Regions from separate parts of the Homo sapiens genome. Here regions 1, 2 and 3 are each linked to region 4. The links are contacts of gene promoters, found by promoter capture Hi-C in blood cells and fetal thymus (Javierre and others, 2016). All regions are on one chromosome and are shown on one strand. Each heading gives the region's core, a stretch centred on a gene start or on the middle of the fragment in contact. The rest is flanking DNA. Distances are from core to core; before and after follow the strand shown.

What was found. The method cuts DNA at HindIII sites, captures the fragments that hold promoters and counts their contacts. A CHiCAGO score of 5 or more calls a contact.
Region 1: a fragment that was not itself captured here is called in contact with the fragment with the promoter of USP25 in region 4 in 1 of 17 cell types (naive CD8 T cells); the score reaches 5.3 in naive CD8 T cells.
Region 2: a contact is called between a fragment that was not itself captured here and the fragment with the promoter of USP25 in region 4, in 1 of 17 cell types (total B cells). The highest score is 5.4, in total B cells.
Region 3: a fragment that was not itself captured here is called in contact with the fragment with the promoter of USP25 in region 4 in 1 of 17 cell types (fetal thymus); the score reaches 6.5 in fetal thymus.

Annotation. Positions count from the first base shown.
Region 1 is chr21:15,004,865-15,008,138 of GRCh38, reverse strand. All of the region lies in intron 3 of NRIP1 (nuclear receptor interacting protein 1), which reads left to right. Among named protein-coding and RNA genes, the nearest start is that of NRIP1, 58 kb to the left of the region's middle. RefSeq lists enhancers at 121-290, 2,185-3,120. The HindIII fragment of the contact is 6,037 bases long and covers 1-3,274 here.
Region 2 is chr21:14,751,891-14,755,419 of GRCh38, reverse strand. No RefSeq gene overlaps it. Among named protein-coding and RNA genes, the nearest start is that of ASMER1, 170 kb to the left of the region's middle. The HindIII fragment of the contact is 1,053 bases long and covers 1,466-2,518 here.
Region 3 is chr21:14,867,412-14,870,949 of GRCh38, reverse strand. All of the region lies in intron 1 of ASMER1 (adipocyte associated metabolic related lncRNA 1), which reads left to right. Among named protein-coding and RNA genes, the nearest start is that of ASMER1, 49 kb to the left of the region's middle. RefSeq lists an enhancer at 88-137. The HindIII fragment of the contact is 1,804 bases long and covers 468-2,271 here.
Region 4 is chr21:15,728,286-15,731,466 of GRCh38, reverse strand. USP25 (ubiquitin specific peptidase 25) reads right to left here and starts at 1,485. Exons shown (of 26, transcript NM_001283041.3): 1 at 1,029-1,485. The coding sequence starts at 1,073. RefSeq lists a silencer at 921-1,880. The HindIII fragment of the contact is 4,884 bases long and covers 1-2,477 here.

The DNA of each region.
Region 1 (3,274 bases), core at 305-2,804, 720 kb after region 4:
TGATACTCTGTTAAATTCTTTCTGAGGTCTCAGCGGGACAGTCAGTCTCTAGAGTATCTGACGACGCTCTTCAAATTACATTGGTGCTGGGTCTTCCCTGAGGGTTCTGGGAATGCGTTGTGTACCTTTCAGCTGGATCGGAATACCAAGATGGCTGCTAGTTCCGACACTTGATTTACTGACAGCTTCATACTGTTTTTACTCGTAGTGTTTTTATTGTGTGATGATGTCATGCAAGCTGGAATTTGAGGACTTGATATCATTATGAGTGATCATCTAAAAACATGAAGCTGATAGAATGTTGGGTAGTTTTTATTTTTTAATTCTGTGTCCTAAACGTAGTCGGGACTCAAGAAATGTTTGCTGAGTTAATTTTTTTTCTCATTAGCGTTGGATAGAACTCTTAGCTCCAAGAACCACATTATAATTTAAGTCGGACATCTCTGTCTTATAGCCAAGGGAAATACGCTCTCACACTGTTCTGAAAAGGTACATGTCACTGTCTTAGCAAAACCCTTACCTAATACTTAATGAAGGTTGATAGTTCAAAGTACAAAATTCAGACTTCAAACAGGATCTGATTCTGCCTCTTTAAAGCACCCCTGTAAGAATTACTACTTTTTTGAAACTTTGTAGAAATCATTTTTTTAGCACAGTGTTTATCAAACCTAGGCTTGAGATATAGTAATTATTTTTATCGTTTTTATCTTTGATTCAATAAAGTTGCTATGAAATAACACCCTATCTTATAGCACTGTTTATGTTAAACAAATTGGTTTTTAAATATTCAAAGCAGCCTTCATTGTTTCCAGAGCTGTCTTTTTCTTCAACTCTCCTGCCTTTGCCTTATTTTGACCATGGCAGTGCACTAACTGATCTACAGTTTCTTCTTCCCTCCAAGCTATCAACAACTCCCATAGCTTCTGGTTTTGTTTTTCTAATATGCTTTTAATAATACCATTGCTTGTAAGGAAACCCACCAGATAAAGGCCAGCTTCTTGGCATGGCCTTGATTCAAAGTCCTTGGTCCCAGTTGCATTTCCAGCCTAATCTCCACTCCCATTGGACTACCACACTTCCTGTGTCACACTCAGCTCTTCCTTGCCTTTGAGTGCTATTTCTGGACCCTAGAATGGCTGCCATTCTCTTCTGCCTGGCTAGCCCTTACTCATTTTTTAACCATCACTGACTACCACCTGCATGTGTACATATGAACTAAAAACCTGGTTACAGCCTATCTGTGTTCCTAGAGCACTTTTTACATATTTCAGTCATTGCATTTAGCACAGTATATACTCTCTCTCCTTTGGCACAGAGACTAAGGAAGAAAATCACCGGCACTGTGCACTCTCGGGTCTTATTTACTCACTAGGTGTTATTACTCTGTCCTTTTCCTGTCCTGTTCAGGAAAACATACCTGAATCCAAGTGAGTGAAAGTGTGGTTATCACCCAAGTTATCTTGAATTTATTTAGTCTGTTTTTTTAAAAGGGAATAATTTGCAACCTCTTAGACCTTATTAAATTCTGTACTTAACACTAAATACTTACACTAAATACTCTTTAGAACTAATCATGACATACCTTATATCTGATGATGACAAACCAGCATGTTATAGATGGAGACACACTGATTTTAGCATATATTGTGATTTAAGCATTACAGCTGTTTGTTCCACCAGACTATTTATTTCTTGAAAGCCAGGACTATTTTATTCACCTTTTTCCTTTTGTTGTTCTAGAGTAATGATTTAAACATTTGCCTACTTTAGCTACTAAATTAAATTTTGAGAGCATTGCCAGGGAAGAATCAAACACCCTCTACTGGCATTAATACTTTCTCTTTTGGCCCATGCACTGGTAATGCTAAAACATCAAATGTCATGCTGATGTTTTTATAACAAGACCGAGATTGCTTTACCTTGTTTTACTTGTGTTACTCACTATTCTAATGATTTTTTTTTTCCGTCTTAAGAATGTATTCATCATGTTGGGAATAAGAAATTTAGTAAACATGCTATAATGTAATTTTCCTTACCTGTAATTTTAGTAAGCTATATGCAGTATGCGTGAAGTTTGTGACTTAACCAACTAAAACCATGTATTTTTTTTTAAAAATGAAAATTCTAGAGATAAATATTGATGGAAATATTTTTTAGTCTTAACCTGTGACTGTGCTACAAATCTGAAAGATACAAATAGAGCTTTAAGTTTTACATTCACTACACTGAAATATAGTCAAGAAAGAATTCGACCTGAATTCTTTAATAAGCACAATGGAAGGGTTGTTTACTTTTGAGAACTAATAACTGCCCCATTCTTTGTGATTGTCTGCTTACATAATTTGTTATAAAAGAATGCTTCTAGGTAAACCCTCTCTCCAGAATGCTGGTGGTTTGTTCTATTCTGCTTGGGAAGGGTTAAGAGGAGACAACATCCTGTCAAAGACCTTGTTTTTAATTTTGCTTCTCACACTGGCACAGATCCTGCTAAGAGCAGCCCAGATTAGTTCGGAAAACCTTTGAAGAGATTTAAGATGTCCTTCAGCCAGTTTGAAGGTTTTTGTCTTGCAAATCCAGTACAAGGGCGCCTGCAGGCATCTCGACCCTTGCTGTGCTGCTGATGCAGCTCAAGGTCACACTAACCCGCCCTGTGACATTCAACAACAACAAAAAAATTATGCGGTGAAACTGCCTCAGCGTTCAACCAACCAACAACTTCCTTTAGTGAGGAACTGAGGAAGAAGACTTTTTTACCCCCCTTTTTCTTCTTTGGGGGGCTCTGTGAATTTTTGCTGTAGGAAATAATCCCGGATTTCTGGTGTGTGTGATGACAAGGTCATCTCTTAATTAGAACACATGTAAAGAACAAAGCTAAATGGCTTCAAAACAGCTTTGTAGTTGATGGAGAGGATTTAAATTATTTAAAGAGATAGTCACCCATGTATGATGGAAGCTGAATTCTAAAGGCATTAACTCCTTCATTCCTATCTATTTGTCATTGCTTTGAATTCCTTATGTCTGACTTTAGAGGGTTGCATTCTAAACTTAAGAGAATTTATAAATGCCCAGTTTTTAAATGATGAAATATAATTTATAAATCAAATTCTCAGATAAACTTTTCATGGAGAAGTTTTCTCCCCATGACATCTATCTCCTAGAAACATTATCACATGGCTGGACTTAGGAACTAGGAGTTACACACTTTTCCCTCTGGCAACTGTGATTTATTTATAATGTGTTGGAGGTGGGTGAGTAAAGTGCTTCTTTATTGCCT
Region 2 (3,529 bases), core at 743-3,242, 980 kb after region 4:
CCTTCTCTCTGTGTTCTCACATAGCAGAAGAGGCAAGCAAGATCACAGGGGCCTCTTTTGTAAAAGCATTAATCCCATTTATGAAGGCTTGGCTCCCATGACCTAATTGTCTCCCAAAGGCCCCACTTCCTCATACCATTATCTTGGGGGTTAAGATGACAACAAATCAACTTTGAATGCACACAAACATTCAGATCACAGCAATAGTATTCTTTATGTTTTTATGTATTTACCTTTACCAGTGAGCTTTGTATTTATGTATGCTTTCATGCTGCTGTTTAGCATCCATTCATTTCAACTTGATAAACTCCCTTTAGAACTTCTTGTAAGGCGGTCTACTGATGATGAATTCCCTCAGCTTTTCTTTATCTGGGAGAGTATTTTTCCTTAATTACTAAAGGATAGTTTTTCTGGATACAGTATTCGTGACTGGCAGGTTTTTTTTCTGTCAGTGTTTTGATATATCATCCCACTTCTCTTCTGTCTTGGAAGGTTTCTTCTGAGAAATCTGGTGTTAGTCTCTTGTTCATAACAAGTTGCTTTTCTCCTGGTGCTTTCAAAATTGTTTTTCTTTGACTTTTGACAATTTGATTATGATGTTGCTTGGTGTGTATTTCTTTGAATTCATCTTAGTTGGAGCGTGCAGAGTTTCTCAAATCTAGATGTCCATTTCCATCCTTACATTTGGGAAGTTTTCAGCCATTATTTTATTAAGTAATGTTTCTGCCCCATTCTCTCTCTCTTCCCCTTCTGAAACAACAATAATGCAAATATTGGTCCATTTGATGGTGCCTTGTATGTCCCTTAGGTTTTCTTTATTCTTTGTCATTCTTTTTTCATTTTGAGCCTCTAGCAGATAATTTCACATGACTCATATTCAAGTTTGCTGATGTTTTCTTCTGAATATCAAGTCTGCCATTAAACTTCTCTAGTGAGTTTTGCAGTTTATTTTCTTTTTCAGCTCCAAAACTTCTTTTTTATATTTTCTGTATCTTTCTTAATACTTTATTCTGTTCGTTTGTTATTTCTTTGAGCTCAGTGGGCATCTTTATGACAATTATTTTGAATTCTCTTTCAAGTTGTCCACATACCTCTTTGTAGATCCAGTTTCTGGAGATTTAGTTTATTCCTTTGATTGAGCCATGTTTCCTTGTTTTTTCATGCACCTTGTGGCTTTGTATTAGGATCTGTCACTTCTCCCAGTCTTCAGACTGGCTTTGTTTAGATAAGACTCCCACTAAGTAGCCCATAAAGAGATTCTGGAATCCTCTGAAACTTTTTGGGGTATCTGGGCCTGTGCATGCAATTTCTCAGAGAGGCTTACTGTGTTTTTTGTTTCCCCTCAGGAACTCATTATCTTTTCTGATGTCTGTCTGTGCCACCACAAGTTATCTGGTTCTACAGCTGCAAGTTTCCCACTCTCTTTTGTTGTCAGTGGCTGGCAAATATCCAGGGCATGCAAGCTTCCTATCAGTACACTGAGTAAGGTGAGACAGATATCAGTTTCTCAGAAGCTGGTGTTCCAAGAAGCTAGAATGACAGACTCATTTCTCGCTCCTTTCTCCTTCCCTCTTGAAGGAGAAGCCTTGAGTTGTGCATCTTCTCTTGATTTTACTGAGGTATGGTAGCTATAGCAAACTGCCTACTGCCTTTTTTTTTAACTTTTGCTCTCAGTGGCTCCAAGGCATCGAAACTATGCTAGTTCCATGAGTGCTCCAAGTGAGGCAAGACAGAGACTAGTCCCTTGGGCAGCCCTCTGAAGAGCCAGAATGCCAACACATGCTCCACTCTTCTCCCTCCTTGCCAAGGAAGAAGTCTTAACTTGTGCACTTCCTCCCCCAATTGTGCCATGCTGTGCCAACCATATCAAGCCACCTGCTGCTTTCCATTGTCCTCAGTGACCCCCAGACATTCAAATTATGCTAGTTCTGTGGGCACACCAATCAAGGAAGTAAGAGACCTGTTTCTTGGGCAGCTCTCTGAAAAGCTGGAATGTTGGAGGCATGCTCTATTCTTTTCTCCCAGAGGAAAAAGATGTGAAGAGGCATTCTGTCTTGGCACTGAGCTGTGCTAACTTGGGGGAGAGGCTGATGCAGGTAAATGAAATTGCTCTTCTTAACTCAATTCAATTTGACTATTCTGTACTTTGTGCACACTTGGAATACTGCAACATCTTAATTGAAGTCTGGAATTCATATAAAAATGTTTAGTGTGTACATTTGTGAGCAATTCATGTTTCTGTGTGGGAATGAAGGCTGGGACTTCCTATTCAGCCATATATAGTTAATTATGTGGATAACTAACTTTATTCAGATCACTCATGTTATCAAGAAACTATCCATTAACAAAATTCTCACTTGAAAAGTATTTTTCTGGAAAAAATACTTTTTTATTTAGTGTCTAGGTGTACAATCTCTACTTGGTATGGAGGAAGTCTTGTTTACATTGAAATGCGTACTATAAATAGGATATAAGTAGATAAAAGGGGGCTATATCTTGGGCTCTTCACTTGGAAGCTTTAATTTCAGCAATTTGAACAGATCTCTCATTGTTCTGAAACATCCCTCTCCCAGGAGAAGATGGTTGGGTTTAGTGTAGGGGTGAAGACATGTTCAGAAGAGGGAATTTTTACTTAGGGATTGCAGAGTTAAGGTTTTAACAATATATTTCCAACTTTGATGATGCAACATACAATTTTTGTCATTTTAATGGAAGACAATAAATTTTATGTCCAGATATTCAGAGAAGGGAGGAATTGTTATTTTGTTTGTGTGTATTTTCCTCTTTCTCCTTTGCTCCCCTTCTTGCTGGGAGTTCCCATACCCATTTCCTTCATATTGGTCTACTTGTTGCCATCTCTTCCTGTTGAATGCTTTCATGAATTCTATATTTCCCCTTGTAGATTGTCATGCAAGCACTGCTTATTATTTCTTGTTTATCTTTCTTCTCCAGTGACCATTGTGTTTTCCTTTTCTCCTTTATCTGACCCTTCCTTTCTCTTCTTTAGAATAGTTGCTTACTGCTTACAGGAGTGCTTTGAATGCTAATGCTATAATTCAGACACTGATTTTTAAACAGAATCCAAAGATTACATTTGAGGCTGGCCTGACTCAGTATCTGCCATATGCCACTAAAATAGTCTATTGTTTATTACTGTTTTATTGTGTTCTTATACAGTTTTATACTGCTTGGGTGTGATCTGGCACTGTTAGCTTTATCCACTTCAAAATTAACCAAGCCATCTGGAGGAGTATAATTTAGAGGGGGAGCACATGGGTTTGTGAATGCTGACATCTTGATTGTGCTCTGAGGGTGTCTCTTATGTTTCTTCATACTCCAGTTTCACCCAAATAAAGCACAAAAATTAAATCACACATCTACTCGCACTTCCCCACATATACATTTTGCAGGCTTCACTGAAATATCAAGAGAACGAAAACAATAGTCTTTTGAGTTCCTTTAAATCATAACAAGTTTGTGGTATTTAAATATATTCAAGCATGAAGTGATATTAAAACAATGCCTTGAT
Region 3 (3,538 bases), core at 120-2,619, 860 kb after region 4:
GAAAGTTTAAAGGGATTTCACAGTAGAAACCATGGAGATAGTGTGTGCAGTAACCCGTAGTCATTGCTGCCCTCATAGTATCTGATCTGAACCTGGCATAGCTTCAGAAAAAGCCAGGTGTTCAGGCTAAAATGAGAATGAGAAAAAAGGAGAAAGTTGCTTTCTTCTTATGTGAAAAATAGGGAATGAACATTTTATAGTTTGGTAGTAGAACCAGTTGTACGAGTTCTGCACTCGCCCATAGGGCTTAGCCTGAAGGGAGAAAAATATTTGTATTCAAAAATCACTTTAAGACTTATGGGAAGATATCTAAAGTTGGTGTATAGAATAAAGAACTGAGATTACAGTTGTATATCTGATTTGTTGGGACCACGTTTGAAACTTGAACTACTATATTTTAAAAGTTTTTTTTTTGAGTGACAATTTCCAGTTCTGTTTTTGGCATGAGGAAGTGATACAAGAAAGCTTCCTACTCTTGCACTTCTTTGTGTGTTCCCTTATTATTAAGTTTTGCTATTAAGTATTCATTTACAGTGTTCTGCCAGATAATTTATTTTAGATGTCGAGACAAGATCATTTGTTTATTGGATCCAGGTATTCTGCTATTCTTGGTTTGAAGAGGAAGTAGCTTTAAGTAAGAAATTCCCACACATTATTAATATGTATGCCCCTCTAGGTGAGTATGTATGTGTAGGAGAGAGACAGACCCACAGCTAGAGGCAGAGAATGGGACACAGAAAAAGGAGACAAAGAAACCATGGTGTCTCAGGTAATAAAATTACTTGCAAAGTTATTGAATAATGATATTGCATTTGCACATTGTACATTCCCTTTTCTTTCAAGTTTCAGTATCTCTCAACAGTCTAGGTGCTGTATGGCTGCTATTGCAGATGGAACTGGGGGAAACAGAGCAAGAGACAGATGAGGAAAAAAGAAATTATATGTATGTTTGCACGTAGAGTTCATCTCCTTTATTCCTCTCTCCTAGTTCAGTTAGTTGGAAGGATTCTGGTACTGTTTCTTTCATTTAACAACTTATCTGCTTTGACAAAGACAAATCAACTTCGACTTTTTGTGGCCCTTAGGGAAAATATTCTATATCTAGTGGTGAAATGGATTGATTTGATTAAAGCCACTGTGCAATCTCTGCTGAAGAAAGAAAATTATATTTTCCTTCACTGAAGATTGAAGAAGAGAAAACATCTGAATAAATATTTTGTTATATTTGATTTTAAAGAATGCATATGGAGAGGGTATAGAGATTGCCTTTAAACTTCAAGTTTGGAAATAAATACATATACATACATGTTACATATTTATGGTGGGAAATATGAGTAAAGTTAAAAGGACTTAATAACTGAGTGCTTTTATCAACAAATTAAAGTTTTCATTACACTTAATCAAATTTTTGTGAACTGCAGCAAAGTGTTTTTTTTCACCCCTACCCTCCCTCCCTCTCTGTCCCTCCCTCCCTTCCTTCATTTCTTCCTTTCTTTTCCTTCCTTCTTTTGAGGAGCTAAAATAAGTTTTTTTTTTCCTTAGCATTTTATCTTAAAAGTCTGGCTATGTAGTGACAGCTGGCTTAAAAAGATACCCTCACATCCTCTTCCACAAGAACCTCTCTGATATTTCAAGTCAATCCTGTGCAGAAGTTTTGAAGTTCTAAAACAATCACAAAGTTTTATTGTTTCTCAAGATTCTCCAGGACTATGAGAACTTAGGTATTCAAGAAAGGCATTTGAAAGGAACAAGAAGTACAAGTATTAGCTTTGTTCCATTCAAGTTAGGGTAGCTGCATTGCTACTATTTTCTTCCCGGTAAAACATGCTTCTCTACGTTTTTTCCTATCCCCTAGTCCCCAGCATTGTGGACTGCGAAATTATGTGACCATCCTATCCACAAGCAGTGCAGATTTTTGTTAAGAAAACAGAGGAACATGTCATTGACTTCTTATTAACGAAAGGAGGCCGTTGTCAAAATAAGAGACAATCTGAGAAAGAAGGGGAAATTCAGCCTGTTGCCACATCACTCAAGGCACGGCTGTACTTGGCATAAAAATTAAAGGGAAATGAGTTGAAAATGAAGACTTGTTACATTCTCTTTTGTAGTCAATTCTTCTTTCAGCCTCTCCCAGGAAGGAGAATGTGTTTTTTCCAAACAAGGAGCAGCAGGGGTTATCTTTTTTTGGACAAGCTAAAATCTGTCTCCTTGTCAAAGGAGACAGATCAGGTCAAAGAGGACTCTGCCTCCCAGAAACAGAGTGCAGAAGCTTAAATTCTGGTTCATGACAAGAACAAAGGGTTCTTGAGGAGGAAGCAAAATGCCGTCTCACTTGCTGGGCCACAAATTGCAGCACTGATTTAAAAATTATACACATGGCTTTTTTGAGCCATGCCAAAACCCTTTTCTCATTTTAGTGTCACTACTGGTTAGTTTGTTTGTTATGTGTGACATCTTTTTTTTTCCTCTAAGAACCATGAAACTATGCAAAGAATAGAAAGATCACAATATGGTCTTGTGGATGTCACTGCTTGAAAAGCAAAAATGCTAGTGAATTAACCATGGTTAGCAGGGATTAAGAAGAGTAAACAGTCTGAAGCAGAATGAATGTGATTGCAAGTGTTTTCAAAGGCCTTTCCTCCCCCAACTTTTTTTTTTTGAGAAGGAGTCTGGGTTTTGTCACCCAGGCTGGAGTGCAATGGCGTGATCTCAGCTCACTGCAACCTCTGCCTCCCGGATTCAAGTGATTCTCCTGCCTCAGCCTCCCGAGTAGCTGGGATTACAGGCACTTGCCACCACGCCTGGCTAATTTTTTTGGATTTTTAGTAGAGACGGGGTTTCACCATGTTGGCCAGGTTGGTCTCGAACTCCTGATCTCAGGTAATCAGCTCACCTCAGCCTCCAAAAGTGCTCGGATTACAGGCATAACCACCGTGCCTGGCCAACATTTTATTTAAAAAAAATCAAAGCTACAGAAATTGCAAGCATAGTAAAATAAGCAGTCATATGCCCTTCGTGTAGCTCTATGCTGATAGGATAGCCACTATCCACATGTGGTTAGCAGCCGCTTGAAAAGTGCTAGTCCAAATTGAAATGTGATATTCTACGTTTCTTTCTAAAATATAACCAATTCCTAATGTTTTCTGAAAAGTGAACATTTTATATGCTTCTAAACCAAGCATATAAAAATTGAATAAATATAAACCACATAAAATGATTCAAAAAATATACATATATAAAACATATATATTTGCATATAAAGACTAGACTCAGAGATATGTATCTGTGTTTAAAAGTTTAAAAGTTTAAAAGCCAACAGTCAGTAACTTTGAGACTTTACGGTTATGGATCTGTGGGTGTAGTCCTTATATGCAAATATGTGCTTTGTATATGTATCCATATATAAATCTTTGGTGCAGGTCTGATTATTTTCTTGGGATAATTCCTAAGGAGTAAAATTACTAGGTCAAAAGGAATTAACAATTCTTAAATACTTGATTCACATTGCTAAATAACTCTCCAGTAAAATTGTATCAAA
Region 4 (3,181 bases), core at 236-2,735:
ATCTACACCAAATCTACAACAGGGTGGGGCATTCATTACTCACCCAGATAAACCAAACATAACTCTGGTGGTTGATCACAGTAAACCCTAACTGTCCCCGTAATACCAACACAACTAAGGCACGGTTTACTCTTTTGCCCAAAATGCTTTTCACGCAAATTAAAAATTAAAAAAAGAAGTTAAATCATGGCCAACTACTCTTCAGAACATGGTGCAAGCCATGATAGTGCACTTAAGATTCTGAAAGCAAAATCTAAAATAGCAGAATGATCTCTATTCACTTTAAAGATATAAAGTTTCACAAACAGTTTTTTAATTGTTTTCTTTAGTGAGTGACCATTTGAATGTGTGACTGATGCAAGAGTAAAGGGTGAACGAAAGAACAAGGTCAAACTTAGGGGACAAAAGATTCCTGGAATAACATGGCCAGAAAGGTTTCCTCTCTTAGGGACAGTTTCTATATTGAAAAAAAAAAAAAAAAAAAAAAAAACAGAAAAGAAGAAGAAGAAAGGGAAACCTTAAAAGGAAAAGAAACCAAGCAAACCACCTACTTCTAGAGTCCACCTGGTCAACACGCCTGCCCCGCGAGGCAGGTAATTCGATTTTGGTGGAGACCGTTTTGCAAAATAGCAGGCCTGGTACACTACTACCTTTGAAAGACAAAATCGGTTCAGAAAGGATGACAACTAGCTATTCTTTCTCATTTAAGGGGAGAGAATAAAGTTTCATTAAGATGCCACACAGAGCACTGTAGGAATGTGAGGGTCGCTCTCAATACCTGGCACCGTCTGCTACGGGAAAACAATCGGCAGAAGGAAGTGGATTGAAGCCCGCAAACTACACTCTGCTTCCCACACGCAGCTGGGCTCTGGGCGCGACGCCCCCGAGGCGATGGGCAGGGGCCGGGGGTGACCGGGGAGGAAGCCCGGGAAGGCGGCGGCGGCGAGGCCGGGGCGCCCGGCCGCAGCGGGAGAGGACAGCCCGTCGGAAGGAGAAGTGGGGCCCGCCGGCTGGCGGACTCGCCTCACCTTCTGCGCCGCGCTCTGCTGCAGCACGTTCTGCTCCACGGTCATGGCCCCCGCGGCGGCGGCGGCGGCGGCGGCGGTGGCGCCCGGCTCCTCGCGCCTCCGCCGGCCCTGGCTGCCGCGCTCCGCCGAGCTCCAGGGAGCGGCGCGGACGGCCTGGGAGGACAGCGCCCCCGCCAGCCAGGCGCGAAGGCGATGGCGGCCGGCGTGCGCGGGCACCGCGGGCAGGCGGCGAAACGCCGACTGTGAGGGCCACGGCGGCCGCCTCACGTCTCCACGCGGCCCGCCTCAGCGCCGCTCGTCCGCGGCGGCCCGGGCCATGAGCGGGCGGAGGACGCCGGGGCACGGGAGAGCGCGAGCCAGTCGGGCGGCGTCACGCGTTCGCACGTTCCTTTGCTGCCGGTCCGCGGGCTGCTTTGGGGAAGGGAGAGAGGGGACGGAGGGAGCGGCCGCCCGGAATGGCGTTGTCCTCCTCCCTCCGCGAGTCCTCCTCCCTCCCCTCCCCCACGCGCCATCCCCGCCCCCGCCCGGCGGCTCCTCCCCCGCAGAGCCCCGCCCGCCGGCCGCCCTAACCCTACATTGTGACCCTCCGGGCGGCGGGGCGGGGCCGCCATGGAGCCCCGCCCCTCCCTGCGCGGGCCTGGCGTTCCCGGGTGGGGCGAGGGCGCGCCTGGCTGCCTGGCCCGGGAGCCGCCCCTGCGGCAGGTTGCGCGACGCTGGCGCTGGGCTTCGGGGAGCGCGACTGGAGGCCGGAGGGCAGCGTTCCTCCCTGCGCCCAGGGCTTGTCGGATCCCTAGCTTACCCAAAGCCTCCAAAGCAAACATTTCCCTCCATGCCCATAACGTCCCAAAACTGCGTAGGGTCCCGAACTCCGGCCCCTTTCTGTGTCACGCGTTCTCTCCCCTCGCCTTTCTAGGAATTTCACAAGCCTTGAACTTGCCTGAAGGGAAAAGTCAAATAAGCAAAGGGTTGCCAGAAATCTTTATGCTGGGAAGTACTTTTCTCCTTAACTAATCATTACGTAAATGAATATAGACATTTTCTATCTACCTTCATTCATTCGAATATGTGTCAGTCACTGCTAGGCTCTGGAAAAATAAAGTTTATCTTCCCAAGACTTAATATAAATGAAATAGGATCTATCTAGCAAACAACCTTACAAAAATATCACTGCCTAATGATACATAATTCTAATATCCCAGTTGCCAAATTAAGCAAACAATTAACTACCATGCATGGAATGCTTGACTATATATGGAATTGTAAGGAAAATCTAACATTAAGAAAGCAATCTCTAGCCACAAAAATATCTCGAGTTCCAGGAGCTAATCTGGGAACGGAGGTGAGAGTGCAGCAGTGTGAGGAGAGAAATTATCAATGCATATTGTCACAAATAGAATACACTTGAAAATCCGGGTATAATTTTTAATCCAATGACAAGGAAAGCAAGCTTGGCAAATGCTAATTGAAATAGTATGTGGTGTTATTTAATAATCATGGATTATAGTAGCTCTTAAGGCTTTGTAACAGTTCTGTGCACTTTACAACCATCTTTGTTCTGCAGCTCAGATGTCTGGTACCACCTGTTGTCACCTTTTCCTTGAAGCTTCATATTTGTTGACTCATTTGATATTTAACAAATTGCAAATCTTATTATATTAATATCCTATGTCTTTTCTAGAGGAAATGAAAAGTCATGAAACGGTTGGAAACAGAAATTTAGAAATACTGTCACATCTCTAATCTCACGTATCGATTTTTTTATAACTCTGAAGCCCAAGGAGGGTGACCTGTCAAAGAGAGCTTATCAAAACCCATTTTTCTTCATTTATAGATCAAAGTTTCTTCTTTTCTTGTTTATATGCTAACTTCATGTTTCTCCATATGAGGGTTTTGGTTTTTTGGTTTGTTTGTTTGTTTTTTAGAAATCAAGCTCATACATTTGAATTCAAGAAAATTAAATTTAACATAAAAATCTAGTAATCTAGTACCATGGGAGGAAAAATGTTGCCAGATACTAAGGTTTAATTTCAAGAATTTGGCAATACAACTTTTCTCTGAGTTAAATTTGTTACTTCCATACAGAAAAAAAAAGATGATCTTACAATAGATAATCATCAAATAGAGCTTTTATATGGTAGACCTATTTGCCCACT